Regions from separate parts of the Homo sapiens genome. Here all the other regions are linked to region 2. Evidence: promoter capture Hi-C in human tissues and cell types (Jung and others, 2019). All regions are on one chromosome and are shown on one strand. The core of a region is centred on a gene start or on the middle of the fragment in contact, and the rest is flanking DNA. Distances in the headings are between cores, read along the strand shown.

The links. Contacts are between HindIII fragments. The study calls those that stand out against the background at their distance.
Region 1: a contact is called between a fragment that was not itself captured here and the fragment with the promoter of RGMA in region 2, in 2 of the 25 tissues and cell types used here (aorta and stomach).
Region 3: a contact is called between a fragment that was not itself captured here and the fragment with the promoter of RGMA in region 2, in 1 of the 25 tissues and cell types used here (hippocampus).
Region 4: a contact is called between a fragment that was not itself captured here and the fragment with the promoter of RGMA in region 2, in 2 of the 25 tissues and cell types used here (H1 embryonic stem cells and dorsolateral prefrontal cortex).
Region 5: a fragment that was not itself captured here is called in contact with the fragment with the promoter of RGMA in region 2 in 1 of the 25 tissues and cell types used here (H1 embryonic stem cells).
Region 6: a contact is called between a fragment that was not itself captured here and the fragment with the promoter of RGMA in region 2, in 1 of the 25 tissues and cell types used here (mesenchymal stem cells).
Region 7: a fragment that was not itself captured here is called in contact with the fragment with the promoter of RGMA in region 2 in 1 of the 25 tissues and cell types used here (dorsolateral prefrontal cortex).

What each region holds. Positions count from the first base shown.
Region 1 is chr15:93,641,421-93,644,237 of GRCh38, forward strand. The region is part of intron 5 of LOC107983974 (a long non-coding RNA gene); the gene reads left to right. Among named protein-coding and RNA genes, the nearest start is that of LINC02207, 210 kb to the right of the region's middle. The HindIII fragment of the contact is 6,025 bases long and covers 1-2,817 here.
Region 2 is chr15:93,087,856-93,090,865 of GRCh38, forward strand. RGMA (repulsive guidance molecule BMP co-receptor a) reads right to left here and starts at 1,356. Exons shown (of 4, transcript NM_020211.3): 1 at 1,064-1,356. The coding sequence starts at 1,077. LOC101927025 (a long non-coding RNA gene) reads left to right here and starts at 1,359. Exons shown (of 5, transcript XR_007064769.1): 1 at 1,359-1,422. The HindIII fragment of the contact is 13,871 bases long and covers 1-3,010 here.
Region 3 is chr15:93,707,499-93,710,419 of GRCh38, forward strand. The region is part of intron 5 of LOC107983974 (a long non-coding RNA gene); the gene reads left to right. Among named protein-coding and RNA genes, the nearest start is that of LINC02207, 150 kb to the right of the region's middle. The HindIII fragment of the contact is 3,561 bases long and covers 1-2,921 here.
Region 4 is chr15:93,834,007-93,836,779 of GRCh38, forward strand. No RefSeq gene overlaps it. Among named protein-coding and RNA genes, the nearest start is that of LINC02207, 21 kb to the right of the region's middle. The HindIII fragment of the contact is 3,321 bases long and covers 1-2,773 here.
Region 5 is chr15:94,021,931-94,024,938 of GRCh38, forward strand. The region is part of intron 2 of LINC01581 (long intergenic non-protein coding RNA 1581); the gene reads right to left. Among named protein-coding and RNA genes, the nearest start is that of LINC01581, 85 kb to the right of the region's middle. The HindIII fragment of the contact is 3,224 bases long and covers 70-3,008 here.
Region 6 is chr15:93,959,539-93,962,261 of GRCh38, forward strand. All of the region lies in intron 2 of LINC01580 (long intergenic non-protein coding RNA 1580), which reads left to right. The region is part of intron 6 of LINC01581 (long intergenic non-protein coding RNA 1581); the gene reads right to left. Among named protein-coding and RNA genes, the nearest start is that of LINC01580, 60 kb to the left of the region's middle. The HindIII fragment of the contact is 4,793 bases long and covers 1-2,723 here.
Region 7 is chr15:93,807,905-93,810,707 of GRCh38, forward strand. No RefSeq gene overlaps it. Among named protein-coding and RNA genes, the nearest start is that of LINC02207, 47 kb to the right of the region's middle. The HindIII fragment of the contact is 5,514 bases long and covers 1-2,803 here.

The sequences.
Region 1 (2,817 bases), core at 91-2,590, 550 kb after region 2:
TCTCGTTTTACCTGGAAGCAGGAGAGTGTATTCTGCTGGTGGCACAGTGTCTCCAGCCTTGTTTTTCTGTATCTTGGCTCTGACATCATCAGGATCACAGATAGTATATAACAGGGCATTTTTTTTTTTTTTGAGACAGAGTCTCGCTCTGTTGCCCAGGCTGGAGTGCAGTGGTGCGATCTTGGCTCACTGCAACCTCTGCCTCCCAGGTTCAAGCAATTCTCCTACCTCAGCCTTCTGAGTAGCTGGGACTACAGGGGCATGCCGCCACACCTGGCTAATTTTTTGTATTTTTAGTAGAGACAGGGTTTCACCATGTTAGCCACGATGGTCTCAATCTCCTGACCTCGTGATCCGCCCGCCTCGGCCTTCCAAAGTGCTGGGATTACAGGCGTGAGCCGCCGCGCCCGGCCTAACAGAGCTATTTTTATTTAGTGCTTCCTGTCCTAAGTCAGGCTTGCTTGTGTCAGAAAAATGCACCAAGCATTAGCTGGAGGTTTAACATTTTGCATGAAAAATACATTCTGGTTTAATAGAGAGCTTACAAGAAACTTACAGTTTTCCTTTTAGTTGTGAAGACAGAAAGGAGAAAGGGATTGACAACAGCTTTTGGACTATGTTGCTTACCTCCTCCTCCAACTATTTTTGTATGAAATTACTGTGAATCCTTCTTTCATGCATGTTTTGATCTGATATTGATCTGCTTCATGGGTATGCTTTTTTAAAGAACAGAGCTCCTTCAGAATCAACCCATATTTGTTCTTTCTTTCATCTGCTTAGTTGCACTGAAGATACACCAAAAACTAATTAGAGTTTGTTATGTGAAAAAAGTTCTAACAAGCTTGCCAACAACGGCATTGTCTAGTCTTATTGCAGACATGTCAGTGGCTGTACATGTGTGAAATGAACTCGATTGGGCTGGATTCCTCCCTGTCTGCCTATTCTTATCTTTGGACTGCATTCCCCGTCATACAACACACTAAAAGCCACTATCAAGGGCTTACTGTAATACCTGTGACACTTTCAGTGTCCTTTTGATGGTTCTTCAAATGCTCTGTTAGCAGGGATCAGCAAATCAGATTTAATAGCCTATGAGATTTATCCCAAGCAAATGAAATTTGACTGAAAAAAATCCTCTTCTTGGCTCTGAAGAATGAATGTGTGGCTGTGGGACACAGATTTTGCTGGGAGAAAGGGGCCCTGCGGTATCGTACCCAGAGCAGTTACAGCACCCGCTGCAGGAGCACGCATCAGTGTACAGTCTATATTAGAACGAAGAGTGGCTTAGGAGAGAAATGAGAGGTGAAAAACTGAAAACGCCAGTCCATCAATTACCATCAAGAAAGGGCTAATTTCAGAGTCCTTTCAAACATTTTTTTTGGGTAGTTGTTGTTTTAAAACCAATAGGTATTACTCCTTGGTATTGTTTGACTAAAGTAAGAATAGGGGAAAAATACCAAAAAAAAAAATCAGTTGTTGAGATTGTAGATACATATTTACACATTCATCCATTCAGTACAGGTATATTTAACACCTGCTATTTCCAGGTGCTGAAGGTCTTATAGTAAGTAAGACAGACAGGTCTCTACTTTCATGGAGTTGAGTCCACTGAGGAAGAAAAACAATGAGGAACAAATATACAATATTGGTTCAACCAGTATTTATAAATTAAATAAATATAAATTTTAGCATCAACTAGGGTGCTCTAAGTTATCTTATTTATACGTTTATTTGTATGTTGGTTGAACATACAAAAAAAGGTTGGCTGAACATACAAGTAAATGCATAAGTAAAACAATTTAGAGCACCTAGTAGATGCTAAATAAATAATTGTGAACTAAATGCTATAAGAAATAAAACCTTGATGTGATAAAGAAATTTAAGAGTAGGGAACAGATGTCACTCTCCAGAGCAGGTGGCTGCTGCCAAGGTGTCTGTTACTCATGTGTGTTTGTGGAACACCAACCATAAAATGAAAATAAAAAGCTGGGAAAAAGCCGATATTGCTGAAGAGCCCTTGATTAGCTGTAATCTCTTTTCAAAGATTAAGAACTTTCCTCTAACAAATGTCTTCATTCTTTTCTCAAGAAAGACAAACAGTAAGAAATTTTATTAAACACAGTCATACACATCAGGTTCTGCACATGTAAGAAGACCCTGTCTTCTGGGAGTTGAATCAGTTACACAAAATCATAATTGCAAAATAACAAATGAGAGCTGTACACAGGAGATGCAAAAAGAATTGAACACTCTCAAAAATTATAAATGTAGAACTGGGGTATACGTGAACTGTTGTCACAACCAACTTGTCAGGAAGGAATTACAGCTACTGGTGTAATAGTATAAATGCATCGTGCTCATAATCACATGAATCCAGAAGCCTAATGCATCTTTCCTAAAATATCAGGGAACTTCTGTAGCTTCTGGCAGTCAACAGCATCATAATGTACAAATTCATTTCCTCAAGGCAATAACGAAAGAATGGTCCAAACTTGAGGATCCTGATATTTCTTCCTAAGAATAAGTTGATGTAGCTGATATCTGGGCCTCAAGGTGCAGGGTTGGCCTGAACATTTGGGGCAAGAAGATAGAGTCCCACAATCCATATGTCTGATTATCAACAAGTTATATATTACAGTAACAAATTTGACAAATATGCCATCATTTTGATGAAATATGTGCGCAGCTATGTTTTTATTTGACTCAAAGTTGACAAAATATCCAATACAACTAAACTTAATTATTGCATGTATGTAGGTGTTGTTTTGATGGGCTAGTGATGTTTGCATAAGCAATTGTTTAATTTTGCAAAAAGTT
Region 2 (3,010 bases), core at 106-2,605:
GGGAGGTCGGGGTTCTCCCTGGTACCGTCGATACTCAGAGAGCTTCTGTAGCCTCCTTCCTGGAGGCGAGGGCTGGTTCCCGCCTCTCCACCTTGTGCGGGAGACTACTTTGAGAACACCCAACAACTTCGCAGCCTAAGAGGAATGCACAGCTCACCACTTCCGCTAGATGGCGCTACTTCCCCTACTCCGCCCGCGAGACACCCAATTTATAAAATAAATACAACCCAACACCTCCCAAAACCACACCACATAATAGCAGCTCACAGGCTCCCATTAGAAATCTCAATTTGGGAGAACTGATTCTACCTCCGAGCAAGTCTAATACAATTACATTAATAAGACGCAATCCCGAATTGCACCCGAGCGTCCCCCACACCCGCCCTCCCATTGAATACACCTGTCCCCCATGCCCGGGCTTGTACCCTGGGTTGAGCTGCGGCGCGAGCCGGCGCTGAATCGTCGCCGTGCCCTCCCGTCCACTTAGGAAAGCCGGGGCGGCTTGGCAATGGGCATCCTCGGCCCTCAATCCAAGGTCCGCACCTTCCCGTACGCCGGCGCGCCGAGGCAAAGGGCCGCCGGGACGCGAGCCCACGCGGTGCACTGCGCCGACATCCCCGAGGGCAGGAGATGGCCAGGCAGCTCCGCAGCCGGGCGTCGAGCGGGAGGCGGGGGCCCGGGCGGCGCGGGCCAATGGGGGTTCACGGCGGGACAGTCGGGTGGCCGGCTCCGTCCGGGGCTCCGCGAGCCGGGCTGAGGGAAGGAGCTCCCAGCCCGCACACGGTGTAAGGGACGTGTGCCGGGTCTGCCCAACCACGCGCGCTGGCGGCTGCCCGGGGGAGAGTATTTTAGGAAAAAAGAACAAACACCAAACCACAAAAACTTTCCTGCTGCCAACAGCTAAAGCGATAGAGGCGCAGCAAAGCTCCAAATGTGGGCAAGATGGGAGCAAGATGAGACGCGGGGCTAAGGAAGACCAAAGCAGCGCCGTGGCCCCGGCATGTGTCGGCGGCGCCTCGGAGATGTCAGAGCCGGGTCTGCCCGGCTCCCGACCCGCGCTTACCTTGGCGGCTGCATGAGCCCCTGCGGCCCGCGGGGGGTGGCGCTGGCGGGGCTGCGGGAGAAGAGGGGGTGTCGGGGCGCCGCTCGTCTGCCCCGGGGCAAGGTGGGAGGGGCTCCGCTGGCGCTGGTCCCCGCCGCCCCGGCCGGCTCAGCAGCGGCCCGGGGAGCGCCTCCTGCTCCCGGGCTGCATGCCTGCGAGCGCCTGGCGGAGCCGGCCCGGGAGCGAACGGCCAGTGCTTCCCCGGCCCAGCGGCTCGGGCGGCGCAGCCAGCGCTCGGGAGACAACTGCAGAGTGGGGCGGCCGGGACCAGCCCCCTCCCTCGCCCGGCCCCCGCCCGCCGCCGAGCGCGGCGTCGCGAGGTTCGTTTGCGCGCCGAGGGGAGGGGGCGGGCCGGGCGCCCGGGCCGCGGGCGGGGGGCGCGCGCGGGCGGGGCCGGCAGGGAGGGGCGGGGAGGAGCGGGGTGCGGGCTCGCGTTGCCCCGCCCCGCCGCGGCCCCACCCTCCCGCATCAGCACCGGCTGGGTGGGTGCGGAGTGCGCCAGCGGCCAAGTCAAGACTCCTTGAATGCTCAGGTTAGGGGGCGCGGGCGGCAAGTGCGGCGACTCCCCGGGGCGCCTCCAACTTTCCGAATCGCCCGCAGGGTTGCGGTGGAGCGCACGGTGTCCTTCAGTTAGGCGGTGGTCGAGGGGAGTTCCTCTGAGATTTCTGGAGAAGGCGGTTACATCCAAGACAAATGCTGTTGCGCTCTGCGGAGACGCACCTTTGTTCTATAGAGATTTTGTTGTTGTTTAAGAATCTTCCTGAAAAAACTAATACATATGTATTACATGCTAACACACGCATACATTCTTGCGTAGAATTGTACATAACTCAGGAGTGTCTAGAGTGAAAAGACCGTATCGCACTCCCTCCCACGGCCGCGGCTCTCCCACGGCCGCGGCTCCCCCGCGGTAACCTTCGGTCAGGGTGTGCTCTGCCGCGGTTCTTTCCAGTCTCTGCGCTTTTACATGCACACGCACAGATTGCGAGTGGAATCTCCTGGGCTTTTCAAAAGAATGTTTTCAACATTAAGCGCATGCACACAGTGGCTTGAACACGGCCACGTCGGGAGCAGTAAATCCCCAGAGGCTCCGGGAGCCCAGGGAAGGACCCTTGCTGTGAAACAGCAAAGAGCCACCCAATCGCCATGTGTGGATCTGAAACCCCAGCTGGAGCGTGAAGTCGGTCTGGTTACACAGCTCAGGCCCAAATTAGCACTGCACGGTTAGAGAGATTTGCCAGTACATTCTAGACAGGGTTATGACCTTCCCCTTCTTACAGAACAAACTGTCTTGAATTTTGATATGATGAGAACTCTGGATTTGCAAAATGAAAAGGTATCGTCCGCATTAAAACACGATCGTTATTTATGCGTGTGGTCTTCAGAGATGTGGTTTTAACTCAATATTCTCCGTTTTATTTGTCAAGTGTATTTGTATAATCTATAGCTGGGATATAAATAAAATTAAGTGGTTTAGCAGGAAGGGATTGGGGATGGGTTTCTAGAATTAGCTCTGACCTTCGGCAAGTCATCTAGCTCTGCTGGGCCTCAGTTTCCTCATCTATGAATAGTAGGGTGTGTGTGTGTGTGTGTGTGTGTGTGTGTGTGTGTGTGTGTGTGGTCTTCCTGCCCTGACATTCTGTGCCCTGACATTCAGTGAATAACCAATTTCTTCATCTTTCATAGCTCAGCTCCAACATCTTCCCCACCCTCTAGGGAGTCCTCACATCCGTGCCTTTCCTTCCTAACACTGAGCTCACTCGGTAATTAGGCGCTCATTAGAGTGACCTTTCCCTACATGTTGGCCTCTCCCACCGTACCATAAGCATCATGAGGGCAGGAACCAGGACTCCTTGGAGTCATCATTGCATTCCTAGCACTTAATATGGTGCCTGGCACACTACAAGA
Region 3 (2,921 bases), core at 392-2,891, 620 kb after region 2:
ACGTTGTGGGGCATTCCTTTCAGTTTGAGAAAGTCTTGCTTTATAGAATTCTTGGTTCATTTATTGAAAAATATAAATTCTGAAAGCATTTTCTAAAACAAGTCATCTTGTCTCCAGGGATTCTGTTTTTCTTCAAATTTGTTTTTTTAACCAAACTTGAGAAAGTTTGGGATTTTTGGTAAGCATGAAAATGTCTTTAGTTCTAGCCCGCTGGCAGTGTGCGGAACCCAGCACAGTCTCTCCATTCCCTCACCTCCTTTTCTGCCCCAGCTGACTGTGCTCTGTAGAGGCCTCATGGAGGAGCAAAGGACTCTGGCAAGGGCTCAGAGATGGGTCCTGTGAAATGTTAGAGGGAGAGTGTGGGGGAAAGCGTCGCTGGATGCTGGCCAGATGTAACCTGGCAGATGAGAAATGGAGTTTGCATTTAGTAGATCTTCTCGGCAACCCCACCCACCCACATCTCTGGCTCTCCTGCATCCCCCTTTGAAGCTTAAAGTCCAACAATCATTTGCAATTTGTGCTCACTTAGGTTTTGGACACTGGGATGAGAGTGGGATTGGATATCAGATGACAAGATGATGGAGGAGGCAGCATGAAACCCCCGGGAAAACAACAAGGGCTTTCCCACAGCTGCGTCTGAATCCTTAGTATCTGTGCATTGTTGCATAAATTATATAACTTTGCTATACTTCAAGTTTTAATTTGTAATACAAAGATTAAAATATCCATCTCATGGAACTGTTGTATGTGTAAAGTTGAGATACTATGTGGAGGACCTGGCATATTCATTGGCACATGCTTGCTGCGTAATAAATGCCAGTTCTATTATATTCACTTTGCTTATCTTACCTGTATTTCCCTTGGTTTTGGTCCAAACTTCACTTACCTGCACAGCTTTCCTGATACCTTTTGTTGAAGTTACAAAAATAAGGAAGAAAATTCTACTTTAAGTACCATTTGAGAGGACATTTGTTGGTGTTTGCTTTTTGGTTTTTTGATTTTTGGTCTTTGGTTACTTTATTTTCAGCCTGTTTAGAGATTTAATGTTTTAATTATTTTCTGTTGTAAAGACTGAAAATAACTCCCCAAGCGTTCAGCTGTTATAAGTCCCAAGCTGGACGGTTTAGTGGAGAAAAGTCAATCTGTTTTGCAATTTGACCTTGTGTAGATACAGCAAATCATCTGATTTATTGGCTCTTTCTTTCACAAGCTGCGCATCTTGATGCAGTGTTATGTTACTTTGTTTTCACCCTGTTCACCAGAAAAAAAGAAAAAAAGAAAGTCATCGTGGAATGAAAAAGAGGGATCTGATATTTTCTCAAAGTCAAGGACAGTATCCCTGAATTTAAAACAGCTCTCAGGTGCAGTTGCGCATGGCTGGCTGTTGTTCTTGCCCAAAGTTCCATAGTCATTCATGCTGGTCATGCTATCAAGCCTGAACCTAGCTTTCACAGTGAAAGATAGCCCGTGCCCTTGGGCCTCTCCCGAGTCTGCTTGAAGTGTGACCTACATCACATTAAAAGCCAGTTTGTGCCCAGGACTACATCATCCCACAAGAGGTCTGCAGGCTAAGGGCAAGAAGCCATGAAACTTTTCTTTTAAGCAATGGGCTTTACCACCTCATAGTGTTTACATTTTTAATAGGTGATGAGAGAATTTGCAATAGTCTGTGTACATCTTGACCCAAAGATGGAATGATTTGAAGAGACCCTGACCTTATATGAATAGTTGCTGTTCATGCCCCTGTACCTATTCATCACTGGAGAAGTCTGAGCTCATGTCTACTTTTTAATACACAAAGAGTCCATAAATTCAACAACGGTCCAACCATTCTTCTAGATCATTAAATTATATAGTGAGATTTTATCATACAAGTCTTGGCCTTCGAAATTCATCATTTTGAAGAAAGATTGTGGTTATATGTAGCTGTAAAATTATTCCCATATAAATATTCTACTTGGAAAGAAATGCAATATTCACTCTAACAGAAAACAGTGACAAACAGAATTAACTTTCTATTGTTTGACATGTGACAATGATCTTATCTTTCATTGTGAGAATAAAGGTAAAGGCTTCCTATTAATTAAAGGTTAGCAAGTATATTGCAGAAGCTTGAAGCTGAATTGCTAAATGGCTGATAAAATTATTAGTTAGGGAACCACAAAAGGTATCTTATTTTTGCCTGATGCCAAGGTGCTGCAAAAGCTTTTGCACAGCAAAGGAAAAGTCACAGATTTTAAAAGCACCGTAAAGGTGGACATAAATATGAAATGAAATCCTTGCATTGTTTTAGTTTTACTCCAGCAATTTATTGTCAGCTTGTCCTTTAAATGTGCTGCAAGATTTCACAATCATAAAAATCCTGAGTTCCAGAACAGACTAGAGTGGTCATACAGGTTGGCTTCACAGGTCTAGACAAGACTGGCCTGAAACTGTCTCAACACCCTAAGAACTCAAGGATAGAGAATCAACTTTGTCCCCTGGTATACCTGATTACTAGCTAGAAAATTTTTAAAGAGTGAGTCTTATCCCACAGCATAAAACCATTTTATGTATTTTAATTGTTCATTGTGGAGATGGAGCATGGCTTACACTGGATTAATCAAGTGACCTATAATATGCTGAGTGTTCTGCTGTCTGTGGGTATTAACAGATTTAACTGGACCAGAAAAAAATAAAGGTTATACCTGGTTGGCTAAAAATATTTGGAGCTCAAATTGCTTTGCATGGCATTCAAGATTCTTCAGAATCGGGCTCCAATTTACAAGGCTTCCGCTACATAAATTGTTCCCCATTCTCTGATGATGTTATGTACTTTTTCATCTCTGAATCATTATTTTACGTGCCCTGCTCTCTATGCCCTTCCCTCCCCATTAGCTGATGAATTCCTCTTCATTTGTCAAACTTCAAGTCACAAGTCA
Region 4 (2,773 bases), core at 67-2,566, 750 kb after region 2:
TTAGAATAAACACATATCCATACACACACGAATCCCAAGGGAAATACTCTAGAAATGTGTAAGAAAATATGAAAGTCGAAATAGTTTTAAAATAGAAAATTTCTTAAGACAGAAACAACCCAAGACACAAATGAAAAGGTAAATAAGTTAAATCAAATGAAAAGCATCCCTATCAAAACAAAAACAAAGGAAAGAAGAGAAAGAAAGAAGTACATTATAATCAAATTTAAAAGACGAGGCTGGGAGAATGTATTTACAACACATGTAGCAGATTTAAGATCGTATCCACGCTATAGAAAGAATTTTTGTACAACCATCAGAAAAGGAGAAAGGGACTGGGCACAGTGGCTCATGCCTGTAATCCCAGGCATTACTCCCATTTTGGGAGGCTGACGCTGGTGGATTACCTGAGGTCAGGAGTTCGAGACAAGCCTGGCCAAGATGGTGAAACCCTGTCTCTACTCAAAATACAAAAATTAGCTGGATGTGATGGTGCATGCCTGTAATCCCAGCAACTTGGGAGGCTGAGGCAGGAGAATTGTTTGAACTCTGGAGGTGGAGGTTGTAGGGAACTGAGATCTTGCCACTGTACTCCAGCCTGGGCGACAGAGCAAGACTCTGTCTAAAAAAATTAAAATTAAAAAGAAGAAAAGGAGAAATAAAGTGATATTATAATTTGTTCATTGGGATGAATGTGTATATTAAAACATTTTTTAAAAACTTCATGATACTTTTAGGAAGGAAAATAGAGAAACGAGTTGTGGGAGGAATAAACTTCAACTTCATCCTTAATCTCCTATTTTTTTAATAGAAAGTGCTTGAAATAAAAATTGGCAAAATGTTAATATTTGTTAATTCTGGTACACAAGTAAATTTTACATTTTTTGTACTTTTTGTATTTTACTAAGTAATTCAGAATTTTAAGATTGTCAAGGAAACTATAAATGCACTAATTAAGTGGTTAATATTTGTGTATGTGTGTGTGTGTTTCTTTATTGCTAGATTTCATGCCAGTATTTTTTCCAAAGCAAGATTGACACATGATCCTTTGAATAAATGAACATTTCCATTTTAATTGACTATATTAGTCCTAATAAGTTAACATGTTAATGTGTGCTTTATGTACATAATTCTTCAGTTACAGGCAATAAATTACTGTTATGTTTTTACCATGCGCAATGAACAATCATAAGAAAATCAGGAGGTGGAATGTCATAACAAGATGCATATGCAAGATTGAAGAAAAAGGACAAATACAAAAAATAGGGCACAAATCATCATGACAGAGTAACCAATACCCCACTTTTTTCAAAAGAAAAGATTACTAGTGTGACAGGATTGCAAAATAAGTTCATTCCTTAGGTAAAATTGTGAAGAAGAGGAAGTCTGCATGGCCATTTGTGCAAATAAGGCATGTTGGGTAGTAAGTAGCAGAACACACACCTCAAATTGGCTTCAAATAGTGATGGCAAGCATTATTTACATCACAGAGGGGCAGACAATGCAGTGGCTGATCAGAGCTTTCCTGATACCATCATGCTTTTTAGAGGCCTCTGCTCTGCCAGCCTGGGAGTCATCTTCACCCTCAGGCTGGTAGACTCCAGTCTCTTAGGTCAGAATGGGATTAGAGACCCGTTCCTGAACCAGTCACACACAGCGGGTGAAACTGCTATGATTGGTTTAGACTTAGAGACTGGAATGGATGCTGGTGAGTCCCATTATTTCTGCCATGCTCTTCCCGGGGTTGTTTTTTCCCCTATGTTTCCTTGTGTTTATGCTCTTTCATTTGCTCAACGCCTTGTTTTTCTTCTTGCTATTAAAATTGAGGTGCAGATTCCCATGCCAGTTTATAGTCACATTTTAATTTGTGTCTTGTCAACAAAAGCATATTTGGAAAATATACTAATGGATGTCCAGCTTCAGTTACCAAGGTAGAATTGAGCAGTACTAGATAGTGAGGTTTGAAGTTATCTGATTTTCCTCCCATTCTTCCTTCCTCTGTCATTCTCTTGTAAGCAATATCATTGCAGAAAACTTGAGAAATACATATGCAAAGGAAAAGTAGAATTGCCCGTAATGTCACCACTCAGAGAGAGAAGCTTTATATTTCAATCTGTGTTCTTACAGTGAATTAAACCTTGGGAAATTCTGTATAAAACTTATTTAGAGAATTATGTTTGATGTTGATGAAAAAAGCCAAACTCTGTAAAATATTTGAAGAGGTTATCTGAGCCAATATGACTGACCATGGCGTGGGGTACAATCTTGAGAGGTCCTGAGAAAATGTGCCTGCGATGGTTGGGTTACAGCTTGGTTTTATACATTTTAGGGAAACTGAAGTTACAGGCAAAAACATAAATTAATACATGTAAGGTATACATTGGTTCAGCCCAGAAAGTGCAGATTGGCAATTGGCGGGGGTGGGGCTTACAGGTCACAGGTAATTTCAAAGATTTTCTGATTGGTAATTGCTTGAAAGAGTTAAGCTTTGTCGAAAAAGTTGAATTCAGTAGAAAGAAATGCTTGAGTTAAGATGGGGAAGGCTGTAGAAGCCAAGGTTCTTGTTACGTAGATGAAACCTCTAAGCAGCAGGCTTCAGAGAGAAAGGATGGTAAATGCCTTTCTTTGGACATTAAAAGGTTTTGGAATCTCAGTTAAATCTCTTCTGGATCCAGTAAAGACCTAGTAAGAGGAGATTCTATACAGAGGCTAATTTCTGCCACAAGAGAGGGCTTTGCAGGGCCATTTAAAAATATGTTAGAGAGGACGGGTG
Region 5 (3,008 bases), core at 432-2,931, 930 kb after region 2:
AGGTGAAGCCAGATCTGCTGCTTCCCAGTTTTCTTTTGGTTTTTTACTGTCTTGGTAAAGAAGAATTTCTAATAGACACATAGCAAAACATTTCTGTCCTTCTACCTGATCCTCTGTGATAAACTCTTCCTGCTCTGTGATGACATTCTTCTTCAGTGACCAGACATCCAGGGGTTGGGAGAAGCTACTCGGGAAGTTGCAAGAGTAGGGATTAGGCTGTACACTGGGAAGTAAGACTGTGGTGTGGTATGGAGCAGAAGGTTGCCGGGAGAAATCCTCAGGAGTGTAAAATGTGACATTTTCCTCCTTAAACCTGGGCTGGAGCAGTGTCAGGAGCAATCTGGCAGGATGCTGAAGAGCAGTGAGAGGAGGACGGGAGTACCGCCAACCTGACATGAGACCTTGATGTTGGGGCACCAGGGTCATTGAGACACAAGGAGTCTCTGTTTCATTTTTCTCCCCCCAGAGGGATTTGCACCCAACCATCTTGTGACTGCTTTTTTAATTCAGTTCAGTGAAAATGACCGTGCTTTTTCCTACTATCTCAACCAAAATTTGTATCCATGCCAGGCTGGGAAAGCATATACTTCCTGAATGAAAAGTGTGATCCAACCATTATGAGCCCCAGAGGGTCTTTGTGGGATTAGTCACTGAGTTGCAGTATGGCAGAGGTGTGGGGTCAATACCATTTCCACTGTGATATGACAATGACATTGAGGACTTGTCAAAGTCAAAGATCACCCACCGAGTTTGTAAATATGATTTAAAAGCTGAGAGAAATGATGACCATATGACAATTAGCAATAATCACTTGAGAATCTTCAGTATTCGGGATGCATTTATTTTCTTTTTAAAAAAGAAGGTAAATAATATCATGACATTATAAGTTCCATGAAGGAGGGAGTTTCATCTATGAATTTTTTATTGTTCACTGCTAAATGGTAGGTTTAGCCTGACACATAGTGGCTACACATACTCAAGAAATATACATCAAATGGATAAATGAATGAATGAATGAATGAAAAGTGTGTTTTTAGAGAGCACTTAAAATGAGAAAGTTTAACATTCACGGTGTGTCTAATAAAACCTGAATTGAATTGTAGCAAACATAATCCTGGCTGACATGAGAAATTTTACCAGATGCATATTATTTTATTTTGGGGGTTATGATTTACACATTAGTGTTGTATTAAAATGTAATATGAAGAAACATACAGAATTTAAATATGTTAATTCAAACTCAAATTATATGTATACACACATATACACAAGCATACATTACACATATATGTGATATATGAATTTTTTCCTTTTCATAATTAAGAAATGCCAAGCAATACTATTAAGAGACAATTTTGGATGTAAAATTCCCTAAAGCTATCCAATACAGAAGCAAAGGGTGAAACGGAGCTGCAGACTCAAATGGCTTGGCTCTGTATTTCAGGGGCAAATGAGGCTACATATTTAGAAGGAACTGTACCTGTATTAATTTTTTTCTCCATCCTGCTGGGCCTTTGTGGATTTTGCTCATGACTTCTGTTAACATGTGCTGGGCCAATAATGTTATAGATCATAGGACACATCCCCCATATTGTGGGGAATTTGCATCCCATGCTTTAATTACCCTTTGGTTTCTGAAGAGGTAAGGGCTGAATCCAGCAGTCCTTTCCTAACAGGCCTGTGGTTCAGGCCTGGCTTGGAAAGGGCCCCAGGGGCTGGCAGGCACTCCAGGCAAATTTTCCAGCAGCAGCACGGCCCCATTTGCCTCCTTCAACAGGTCTTCAGTTGGCTGTATTAGTTCATCGGCTTCAGACTTTGAATTGGCACAAATGCATTGTGTGGATGGGGCAGTCGCATTGACTGGCCTGGAACTAATTAAAAACTGGAATATTTTAGATCACTAGGAAGAGAGCATGGCCAGATTTGCAGGGATGGTGCAAGTGAACTGAAAGAGCAAATTAACCCAGCCCCTTGAGAAAGATTCCTGCTGCCCGACCTTAGGTAGCCTCAGCTGGGCTTGGGCATATCCCGGTGTGAGATGACCCCTGCAAACCTGACAGGTACTCAACCATCTCAGCTGCTTAGGAAACATTCTTTTTTTTTTTTTTTTCCTAAATATTCCTAGTGGCACCATGTTTTATGAAAAAGAGCAAGTTTGCCAAGCTTGTTAGCTTCAGGGAAAAGACATATCCAAGTGAGTGAAGGACTGTGAAGGGCATTTATAATGAGGGAAATTTACTGCCTGGTTGAGCGTCAGGGGCTGTGTTCTGAGGACTGGACTTCAGGCACACCCAGTGACCTCCCGCCACAGTGGGACACCATCCAGAGGACTTCCTTCTGACCTTTCCCCTCAGGCACGTCCTAAGGCACCTTGCTTGTCCTCTTTGTCACCACTTGCTATTTTGCATTCTGTCTGAACTATAAGAAACACACACTCACCTTGGCTAAGATGGAGTGTTGTCTTGCTGAGGACTTCACCATGGCTCGCCCGTAACTGCTGTCTCGCTCCAGGTTTGGGGAACACTTTAAGCTTGTTTTCAGCCTTAACAGTCTTAGCTCAGAGCCAAGAGTTGTGAATCCAAAAAATATCCATTGCTAGTTTTTGGTGTTTTGTTTTTATTTTTGTATTTTTTGATACCTACAATTTATTGGGCTGGTATGTATGTGCCCAGCACTGGGCTAAATTATGGAAGACACTAGTCCATTTAATCAACACAACAACAAAAAAGTAAAGAAATTAATATTGTTATTCAGCTTTTTATTTTAATTTTTAAAGTTGTGGTAAAGTAAACATAACATAATATTTACCATCTCAGCTATTCTTAGGTGTGCAGTTCAGTGGCATTAAGTACAATCACATGGTTGTACAAACATCACCTCCAACCATCTCCATAACTCTTTTTGTCTTGCAAACTTGATACCCATTAAACAACTTCCCACTCTTCCCTCCCACCAGATCATGACAACCACCATTCTACTTTCTATCTCTATGAATTTTCTTTTTCACT
Region 6 (2,723 bases), core at 138-2,637, 870 kb after region 2:
GTGCACTTTAATAGGTGTTCTACAGTCATTTGGTAGAATATTTTGTATATGTTGGTTAGATAAAATTGATTGCTAGAATTGAGTTTTCCATACACCTACTGATTTTCTATCTAGCTCTTCTATTAATCTCTGAGATTAGCTGGTTTAAATATTCAACTGTTATTGCTAAGTTGTCTAATTCTAATTCTTTTCTCAAGTCTGTAGTTTTTTTTCTTTATGTATTTTGGAGCTCTGAGGTAGGTATGCATATATTTACAATTTTAAAATCATTTTAATATAATGAGCCTTTTATCATTATAAAGTAACCCTCTTTGCCTCTAGTAATATTTCCTGTTTTTTTAAATTTGATAATAATGTAGCCACTCTAGCACTTCTATGGTTACTGTTTACATGATTTATATTTTTAAATTATTTTCCTTCCAACCTGTATTTTAAAATCAAGCATATTTCTTTTTTAGACAGTGCATTGATGAATTTTTAAAACCTCATTCTGACATTCTGTGCTATTTAAGGGCAGAGTTTGGTACTTTCACATTTAATGTAATTATTGACATGGTTGGATTTATATCAGCTATTTTGCTACTTGTTTTCTATTTATCCCATGTCTTTCTTTTTCCTCTGTTTCTGATTTACTGCCAGCCTTTATGTTAAATAAATATTTTCAGTGTGCCATTTTCATACTTCTCTTCATTTTCTTAGTAGATACTATAAAGATTATAGTGTGCATCTGAAATTAGCACAGTATCTTTCAAAATAATACTAACAAATTTCTGATCAACTATTAAAACTTTGCTCTACTATATATACTTTTTCCTATACTTGCTCTTGTGTTATCATCACATGTATTATAGACAGACAGATAGATATAGATATATTACATATTTAACAATACAGTATTATAAACATACTTTATACAACCTTATGTCTTTTAAAGAAGTTAAGAAAAAAGAGAAAATACTTTACATTAAGTCTTATATATTTACCTACATATTTACAAAATTCCTTTAGTAATTTAAAAACAAATTTGATAATGCAAGTGTCCAAATGATGAATTATCTTAGCTTTTGTCTGGAGAGGTTTGTATTTCACCTTCATTAAGAAACAAAAACAAAAACAAAAACTTTTTTTTTTGGTTTAGAATCCCTGATTGACAAAGTTAGCTATTATATCTATTCTTATTCCCCTGTATTTTCTCTCGTTGCTTTTGAGATTTTTCTCTGTCTTTGGCTTTTAAGAATTTAACTGTGTTGTATCTAGGTGTGAATATTTTTGTGTTTTTTTTGGGAGGATTATCGGTGCTCCTTGCAGATTAATGATTTTCATCAAATTTGGACAGTTTTCAGCCATCACTTCTTGAAATATTTTTCTTCTCCTTTTTTTATCCTTTGCTGTTAGAAATAACATTACACCTAAATTGTTATACTCAAAGCTATTCCACAGGTATTTAGGACTCCCTTTATTTTTCTTCATTTTTTTTTCTCTGTGTTCTTTAAACGTGGTATTTTCTATTGATCTTTTTTATAGTTTGGTGACTTCTGTTGTATAAAATTTCTTATAGAGCCTCTCTGCTTAGTTTTTTTTATTACGGTTATAATTTTTATCTAAATTCTGGTAAAATATGGAAACTCGTATCCACTCCATCTTTCTCCTTCACTTTTATTTGTGTTATTGTTTTCACATGCAGTATTACATGTGTATATTCATGTTATAAACCCAACAAGGCACTGCCATAATTATTGCTTTAGATAACCTTACATTGTATCCTTATGTTGCTATATACAACCTGTATTTCCACTTGGTTCGTTTTTATAACTTCTGTTTCTTTATTGAGACAGCCGAGCCATTGAATAATTATTAACATACTTTCCTTTAATTCTTTATGTTCGGTTTCCTTTAATTCATTGAACACATTGAACCTGTCTGTTTTAAAGTCACTGTCTGACAAATCTAATACCGGTGACACTGAGAGACAACTTTTAGTGACAGGTTTTGTTCCTCTAAATATGATCACACTTTTTTGTCTCTTTGCACACCTTATAATTTTTATTTGAAGTCGAGACATTCTAGATAATATGTTGTGTCAGTTCTGGATTCTGAGTCCTTTTCTCTCTGAGGGTTGTTGTTTTCTTTTGTAACATGCATGAATTAAATCTGTGAATTCTGTCTCCCCTACCTGGTGTGGCCGCGAATGTCCCTGCTCTGCTTATTTTTAGAAATTATTCACTTATTTGTTCCTTTATTTATTATTTTTCAGCCTGAATCTTAGTGCTCTGGTAGTGTTCAGTCAACAATTGGCCAGAGATTATGCTCAAACACCTCCAGCTAAGAAGGCTCACTCTCTGTTGATGATATCTGTATGAAAGTGCAGAAATTCAGAGGAGGAGGAAATTATGGTTTATTCTAGTAGAGAAGAAAGATATTATGGAAGGAGGAGGGCTTGATATTTGTCTCAAATTATTATAGAATTTATATATATAGGCAGGGTGCAGTGGCTCACGCCTGTAATCCCAGCACTTTGGGATGCCAAGACAGGTGGATCGCCTGAGGTCAGGTCAGGAGTTCGAGACCAGCCTGGCCAACATGGTGAAACCTCTCCTCTAGTAGAAAAAAAAAAAAATAGCTGGGCATGGTGGTGGGCGCCTGTAATCCCAGCTACTTGGGAGGCTGAGGCAGGAGAATCGCTTGAGCCTGGGAGGCAGGGGTTGCATGAGCTGAAATTGCAC
Region 7 (2,803 bases), core at 76-2,575, 720 kb after region 2:
CAGCCTGGCCAATATGGTGAAACACCCTCTCTATTAAAAATACAAAAATTAGCTTGGCATGGTGGCAGGCACCTGTAGTCCCAGCTACTCGGGAGACCGAGGCAGGAGAATCGCTTGAACCTGGGAGGTGGAGGTCGCAGTGAGCCCAGATCGCGCCACTGCACTCTAGCCTGGGCAACACAGAGAGACTCCGTTCCAAAAAAGAAAAACAAAACAAAACAAAACAAAAACAAAACCTAGCCAGGCATGGTGGCATGTGCCTGTAATCCCAGCTACTCAGGAGGCTGAGGCAGGAGAATTGCTTGAAACTAGGAGGTAGAGGTTGCACTGGGCCGAGATCGTGCCACTGCACTCCAGCCTGGGTAAGAGAGTGAGACTCCATCTCAAAAAAGACAAAAAAAAAAAAAAAAGAAAAAAACATTTGATCAGAATACCTGCATACATGTTTCTGCTCTGTTGCTCATTCCCTGTGTGACCTTAGGCAAGTCATTTAACCTCTCTGAGCCACAATTCCTTTTTCAAAAACAAGTGGAGATTGCAAGTCCCTCCTCAAAGTGTTTTTGTAGGATGAAAACCATACAGTTAAAGTAAAAAAGTAAAATATATTTTCAAATGTATTTAATTTTTTAAAATACATAAACTGAGGTAGAAAAAGATGTGAATACATCTCCTCTGGCTCCCTTACAGTTGACTCTTGAACAACTCAGGGATTAAGGCTGCTGATTCCCCTCAGTTCAAAATCCATGTATAACTTTTGACTTCCCAAAAACTTAACTAGTAATAGCCTGCTGTTGACCAGAAGCATTACTGATAATATAAACAGTTGATTAACACACATTTTGTATGTTGCATGTACTATATACCGTATTCTTTTTTTGAGACAGAGTCTTGCTCTGTTGCCCAGGCTGGAGTGCAATGGTGTGATCTCGGCTCACTGCAACTTCTGCCTCCCAGGTTCAAGTGATCCTCATGCCTCAGCCTCCCGAGTAGCTGGGATTACATGCACATGCCACCATGCCTGGCTAGTTTTTGTATTTTTAGTAGACATGGGGTTTCACCATGTTGGCCAGGCTGGTCTCAAACTCCTGACCTCAGGTGATCCGTCTGCCTTGGCCTCCCAAAGAGTTGGAATTACAGGTGTGAGCCACCACGCCCGGCCTATATACTGTATTCTTAAAATTAAAGTAAGCTAGATGACAGAAAATGTTATTAGGAAAATCATAAGGAAGAGAATATATATTTACAATTTATTAAGTGGAAGTGGATCATCATAAAGGTCTTCCATCTTCATCATCTTCATATGGAGTAGACTGAGGAAGAGGAGGGAGAGGAAGGGTTGCTTTTGCTGTTTCAAGGGTGGCAGAGGTGGAGGAAAATTTGCATATAAGTAGACCCACACAGTTCAAACCCATGCTGATCAAGAGTTAACTGTACCTGTCTTGTTTACTATAAAATGTGGTTCAGAGAATTAGAGCTGGAAAGATGCTTGGACACCCACCTGATTATATTCTCCATTCTACAGATGAGAATAGAGGCCAGGGTACAAATCTTCCCAACAGAATGAAGAGGTGGTTGTATGTTTTTTTATTTTTTTGTTTAATTTTTAACATTTTAATTTTATTATGTTATTTTTTATTGTATTATGTTATTTTTACTTCATTTCCTTTCTCTGAGCCAGGTCAGAAAGAATAAATTTATAAAGAACACTCATCACTAAGCTCCAATAAAAAAAAAAAAGGAAGAAAATGATTAAAAGAAAATGTACTGCCTTGGCAGAATCCTTAAAGACCATCTGGTTGCGATTTGGCATAGGGGGTCTAATAGGAGCTCCAATCCACAGTGTTGCTTGACCCTGGAATCATGGATTGTAGTTTTCGTGAGCCAATCACCTTTCGTTATCTATCTGCTCTGTATGGCCAGAGATTAGACTTGGTTCTTTCATATATTTCCTCCAATGTTAACCTCTCAGCATCTTTGTTATTATAATCTCAGTTTTTTTTTTTTTTTCCCAAAGGAGGAAAGTGAGGCTTAAAGAATTTTTGCAAGACTTACCCAAAGGCACTTAGACAATTAGTAGCAGGGATGGGCCACAACTGCTAGAGCAAGACTAAAATCAATTAATTTTATGTCAAAGAAAATAAATTACTAAAGACTTTCTAACTGCTAGGTCCTGCTCTGTGCTAGTCCAGTACTCATTCTGTCTCAAATTTTTTGAAATCATATCTCCCCATCAGCAGCAAGCTTTGTGAAAAAGAACAATCTTGGGATGAAATGATATAATTGCTGCAATTTTTTAGACCTAAGCCCATGGAAAGGTGACCTGAAAAGGCTGTCATTTGCCTTACTGCAGAATAGACTTGCTCAATCCTAAAGAACAGTTCTTCATTTTCTTAGGCAAATAGAAATCTCCAAATACAAATGTTCATAGTACTAAGAAAGGACTTAGAATATTACCTATATTGTTAGAATGTAAAAAAAATTCATCCTTCTAAAGTTAGATTAAGATTGCTTTATTGCAAGAGATACTTTCATTACAAAGTACCTGCAGCCTGTCCTACAAGAGTCATTTCTCACTATTTCTAGATGTATCCTGCAACATGATACTTATTGTTTCTGGTTACTTCCATACGCATTTGAATTTGCTTAATTCTTGCCTCTACATGGAATTCTCTCCATTTCCAACTTCAAGAAAAGAACTTCTTTTAAAGTTCCACTAAAATGCTCCTTCCTCTATGAAGTTCTTCTCAATCCTCTATGTTTCAGGAGGGGAAGGGTAACATTTATAGATCTCCAACTACATACA